Regions from separate parts of the Homo sapiens genome. Here region 2 is linked to region 1. The links are contacts of gene promoters, found by promoter capture Hi-C in human tissues and cell types (Jung and others, 2019). All regions are on one chromosome and are shown on one strand. Each heading gives the region's core, a stretch centred on a gene start or on the middle of the fragment in contact. The rest is flanking DNA. Distances are from core to core; before and after follow the strand shown. Region 1 holds the start of AVPR1A (arginine vasopressin receptor 1A). Region 2 has its middle 24 kb from the start of KICS2.

The links. The method cuts DNA at HindIII sites, captures the fragments that hold promoters and counts their contacts. A contact is called where the count stands out against the background at its distance.
Region 2: a contact is called between a fragment that was not itself captured here and the fragment with the promoter of AVPR1A in region 1, in 1 of the 25 tissues and cell types used here (thymus).

Annotation. Positions count from the first base shown.
Region 1 is chr12:63,149,831-63,152,530 of GRCh38, forward strand. It overlaps AVPR1A (arginine vasopressin receptor 1A), which reads right to left and starts at 1,371. Exons shown (of 2, transcript NM_000706.5): 1 at 37-1,371. The coding sequence starts at 1,006. The HindIII fragment of the contact is 8,253 bases long and covers 1-2,700 here.
Region 2 is chr12:64,245,265-64,247,964 of GRCh38, forward strand. No RefSeq gene overlaps it. Among named protein-coding and RNA genes, the nearest start is that of KICS2, 24 kb to the left of the region's middle. The HindIII fragment of the contact is 5,361 bases long and covers 1-2,700 here.

The DNA.
Region 1 (2,700 bases), core at 121-2,620:
TATCCCTGCACTTTCCTCTATTTTCCCGGCACGTACCGGTCCAGACGGACATGGGATCCCAGACAGACCACATCTGGATGATGAAGAAAGGCGCCCAGCAGACGATGTAAGCCGTCACGATCACAAAAGTCATCTTCACCGTGCGGATCTTGGCCCGGGAAATGGACTTCACGCTGCTGACACAGGGTGCGAGCAGGAACCCCTTTTGGAAGGCCACACCCGCTTGCTCTGCACCCTTGCTCTGGCGCGACGCCGTCTTCCCGCGGACGTTGCACCAGATGTTGTAGCAGATGAAGCCGTAGCAGGTACCCAAGATGACCACGGGCGCCACAAAGATGCCGCCCGTCATCCAGGTCACGTAGGCACGAGAACCCCAGGGCTGGATGAAGGTGGCCCAGCAGTCGCGGGCCTTGGTGACATTGTTCACCTCGATCATGGAGAAGACGAAGTACTGCGGCGTGCTCAGCACGAAGCTCAGCACCCAGGCGGCCGCGATCATGAGGCGCGAGCGGCGCGCGGGCTGTTGCAGAGTCTTGAGCGGGTGGCACACCGCGATGTAGCGGTCGGCTGTCATGACTACCAGCATGTAGGCCGACGCAAACATGCCGAACACCTGCAGGTGCTTCACCACGCGGCACAGCCAGTCGGGGCCGCGGAAGCGGTAGGTGATGTCCCAGCACATTTGCGGCAGCACCTGGAAGAATGCCACGGCCAGGTCGGCCAGGCTGAGGTGTCGGATGAAGAGGTGCATGCGGGACGTCTTGCGCGGCGTCCGGTGCAGAGCCAGCAGTACGCTGCTGTTGCCCAGCACGGCCACCGCGAAAGTCACCGCCAGCACGGCGATCTCCAGTTTGGCCAGCTCCTCGTTGCGCACGTCCCTCGGTGGGCCGTTGCCCTCCCCGAGGGCTTCGGCCTCCCGGCTTGTGTTGCCAGCGCCGGTGGCCAGAGGCCACCATGGGCTGGAGTTGCCCGAGGGCCCCGCGTCGGGACCGGCGGAGAGACGCATGCTGTCCATGCAGCTCCTACTCGGCCCTCTTCGGAGCTCCAGCCCTCGCGGGCCGCTCCCTCCCCGTCTCGGAGGACTTGGGCTCCTCGTCCGAAGCGCAGGGTCTTTGGCGCGCTCGCAGCTTGCCGGGCTCTGCGATCCCTCCAGTGGGCGTCTCCCGGAGCAGCGTCCCGCCTGCCCACTGAGCAGCTCTCAGCAGGGTGAGCTGGCCCCTCTCCCTGCTCTGCCTTTTTTCAACTTCGGCGAGGTCGGGAAGGTGAGCTCCGAGCTTCCGGAAGCACTGGGTTCCCAACTCAAGTATTTATGCGGTGCTTGTTTCCTTGGGACGCGCTCCCTCCCGCCCTATTGCCGGAAGACTGCTGGTTGCCTACTCCCCGCTCCCTGGAGTTTTATTTTTTCCTCTCCCTACGTCGGTGTTTGTCCTCTGCATCACTGTGGAGGGGGTGGAGCTGGGAGACTCGCAGATTCCTCCTCACAGTAGGTGGGATCGTGGCGCTTTCCCGCTTTTCCCTTCCAAAAACTTGGACAACTGGACGAGTCATGCCTTTTCTGGGCTCGTAGCCGTTTCCACAAGCTTCCCTCACTAGCCTTCCTCGCTAGCCTCCTTAACCATGCATTTGACTTCAACAGGCACGCTAAGCGCGGTACCTGGAAACCTCCAGTCCACGCACCGGCGTCCACGCATCTAGCTCCTGCACCTGAACCTGGCTCTCGACCTCACCTCCTCCAGTCCGGGTTTCTTCCTTCTCACCGAGCTCACCCGTGCAGCAGTCTGGCAAATTTTATTCCCCAGGCAAATTTTCCCGGGGCAAACATTTCTCCCCGCTCGTGACTTAAAGAGCTATCTCTTCCTAGTAACGTCTTTGATGCATGCTATTTATTACCCTATGTTTGCGACGGGAAGAACGCACTCATCACTTTGCAGCCCCAGTGGCTGCTGTGCCTGTATTCACAGCGGGGTTTGGGGGGAGTGTCTCCTGGTTTTCTCTATGGAGACTAGGGACTTAAGGAGTTTTCTCTAGATTCCTGGGGTTTTCTGCGGGAAAAGCCTGATTCCCACAGCGGGGATGGCGGAAATTTGGCCGCAGTGGTCCGTGGGGACCGTCTGGTTACTACTGAGTCGTGGGGACATCTTTTTGGGTGGACAAAGAGCAGCTGCCGGACAGCGGCCATCCAGGCAGTGCTGTCCAGGGCAAGGGACAGAAAACCCGCCCGGCTCCTGTGCTCAGGAGTAAGAAAGAGGCAATCTCAAAGAGAGGAAAGAGGCCCTGGGAAGGAGGGGAAACAACCACCTACCTAGTAATCCGTTACTCTGAACAGCTGGAGCCCCTCTGCAGGGCGGGAGGGAGGCAGAAATGCGATCTCCCTCAGCTCTGTTTTAACGTTGGTGAAGATATGCCTCGACGGACAGCAAGGGGGAGCTGTTTTCAGGCAATTTTACAAGGAAGAAAGGAAGCCGTTTCTGCAGTTATCTGCTGTGTAGATGCAGGAGCATGACTTTGTTGGTCAGAACGTTTCAGTATTGTGGCCGTGGTATAAATTTAATTGCCTCAGAAAAATATCACCCTCTGTGAAACGTAGGCAAAAAATGCAAAAGATTTTATTCATTGCAGTTCTCAGTAATAATTCCACTTTACTATCCAGTCCGTTCATGCAGAGTTACCAAGGTTGTCACGTTGAGATGCTGGACTTGA
Region 2 (2,700 bases), core at 82-2,581, 1.1 Mb after region 1:
AAATTAAACTCTACCCTTAGCCCCTCATATTAGCTCTCCAAAAGGACAGTGAGATGAAGCTTTGTTTTTCAAATCTGAGACGGTTAGGAATTGAAGCTGACTAGCCACTATAGACTGAATGTTTACGTCTCCCCAAAAATCATATGTTGAAACCTGACCCCCAATGTGCTTGTATTTGGAGGTGTGGCCTTCAAGAGGTGATTCATGTGGGCACAGCCCTCAAAAGTGGGATTAGTGCCCTTATATGAGACTCCAGAGAGCTCCCTGGCCACTTCCACTATATGAAGACACAGTGAGAGGACAGCCATCTATGAACCAGGAAGCAGGCCCTCACCAGACACCAAATCTGCCAGTGCCTCGATCTTGAACTTCCCTTGCAGCTCCTCAAAACTGTGAGAAATATTTGTTTTGGATAAGCCACCCAGTCTGTGGCATTTTGTGATAGCAGCTTGAGTGGACTAAGACACTAACCAAATGGTCTAGAAGAAGAGAGATGGATAAAATGATTGCTTGTCTGGGAAGTGTGGCTGAGACCAAGTGAAGGTCCTTGCAACCAAGTAGCTATGCAAGAACCCAGTACTAGAAACCACAATGAGTCTGAATGTACCTGAGTTCCTGGGCTGAATTTGTGGCTGTAATTACAAACCAGCAGGTGGTGAGGAGTTCATTATTGCTTATGTCAAACATCTATAAGATAGATCCTTTCACCAGCAAGACCTGAGAACAAAGGACTTTCTGATTACAGTCAACTTCCAGCTCTCCTTAAGTGAGTCTTCCAAGCTCAAATAGCTGAATCCACTAACAGGCCTCTGAAAGGAATCAGTTCATCTGTCATCCTGCGTGAATATATCCACAACAGAAGTTGCCAACCTACCTACCACCTGCAGGACAATTTTGGCTCACAGCCCGCTGTTGTTTATTTTTCAGCAGCTTGATTTGAGATATAATTCACATACTATACAATTCACCCTTTTAAAGTGTGCAGTTCAGTGGTTTTTAGTATATTCACTGAGTTGTGCAACCATCACTACAATTTTATAACGTTTTAATCAACTCCCTCCCCAAAAAAACCCACAACCATCCAGCCCTAGGTAACTGCTAATCTACTTTCTGTCCTTATAGATTTGCCTATTCTGGCATTTCTTATAAATGGAGTCATACACTATGTGGTTTTTTGTGACTGGCTTCTTTCACTTAGCATAATGTTTTCAAGACTCATCCATGTTCTAGCACATGAATGCTTCATTCTTTTTTGTTTTGTTTTGTATTGTGGTTTTTTTATTTCAGTAGGTTTTTGGGGAACAGGTCGTATTTGGTTATACAGGGATAAGTTCTTCAGTGGTGATTTCAGAGATTTTAGTGCACTCATCACTCAAGCAGTGTACATCGTACCCAATATGCAGTCTTTCATTCCTCACCCCACCTCCCATGCTTCTCCCAGAGTCTCCATAGTTCATTGTATTATTATTATTATTATTATTATTGAGACAGAATTTCACTCTTGTTGCCCAGTCTGGAGTGCAGTGGTGCGATCTCGGCTCACTGCAACCTCTGCCTCCCGGGTTCAAGCGATTCTTCTGCCTCAGCCTCCTGAGTAGCTGGGATTATAGGCACCCGCCACTATGCCCGGCTAATTTTTGTATTTTTAGTAGAGACGGGGTTTTGCCATGTTGGCCAGGCTGGTCTTGAACTCCTGACCTCAGGTGATTCACCTGCCTCAGCCTCACAAAGTACAGGGATTACAGTCTTGAACCACTGCACCCAGCCCATTGTATCATTCTTATGCCTTTGCATCCCCATAGTTTAGCTCCCACTTATAAGCAAGAACATATGATATTTGGTTTTCCATTCCTGAGTTACTTCACTTAGAATAATGGCCTCCAACTCCATCCAGGTTGCAAATGCCATTCTTTCATTTATTTTTATGGCTGAGTAGTATTCCATTTTATATATATATATATATCACATTTTATCCACTCATTGATTGATGGACATTTGGTCTGGTCCCATATTTTTGCAGTTATGAATTGTGCTGCTATAAACATGTGTGTGCAAGTGTCTTTCATATAATGACTTCTTTTCCTCTGGCTAGATACCCAGTAGTGGGACTGCTGGATCAAATGGTAGTTCTACTTTTAGTTCTTTAGGGAATCTCCACTGTTTTTCACAGTAGTTGTACTCGTTTACATTCCCATCAACAGTGTAAAAGTGTTTCCCTTTCACCACATCCACACCAACATCTATTATTTTTTTATTTTTAAATTATGGCCATTCTTGCAGGAGTAAGGTGGTATCACATGTGGCTTTGATTTGCATTTCCCTGATAATTAGTGACGCTGAGCATTTTTTCATATGATTGTTGGCCATTTGAATATCTTCTTTTGAGAATTGTCTATTCATGCCCTTAGCCCATTTTCATGGGATTGGTTTTTTTCTTGCTGACTGGTTTGAGTTCCTTGTATATTCTGGATATCAGTCTTTGGTTGGATAGTTTGCAAAGATTTTTCCCCTCTCTGTGGGTTTTCTGTTTACTCTGCTGCTTCTTTCGCTGTGCAGAAGCTTTCTGGTTTAATTAAGTTCCATTTTATTTATCTTTGTTTTTGTTCCATTCGCTTTTGGGTTCTTGGTCATGAAGTCTTGCCTATGCCAATGTCTAGAAGGGTTTTTCCAATGTTATCTTCAAGAATTTTTATGGTTTAG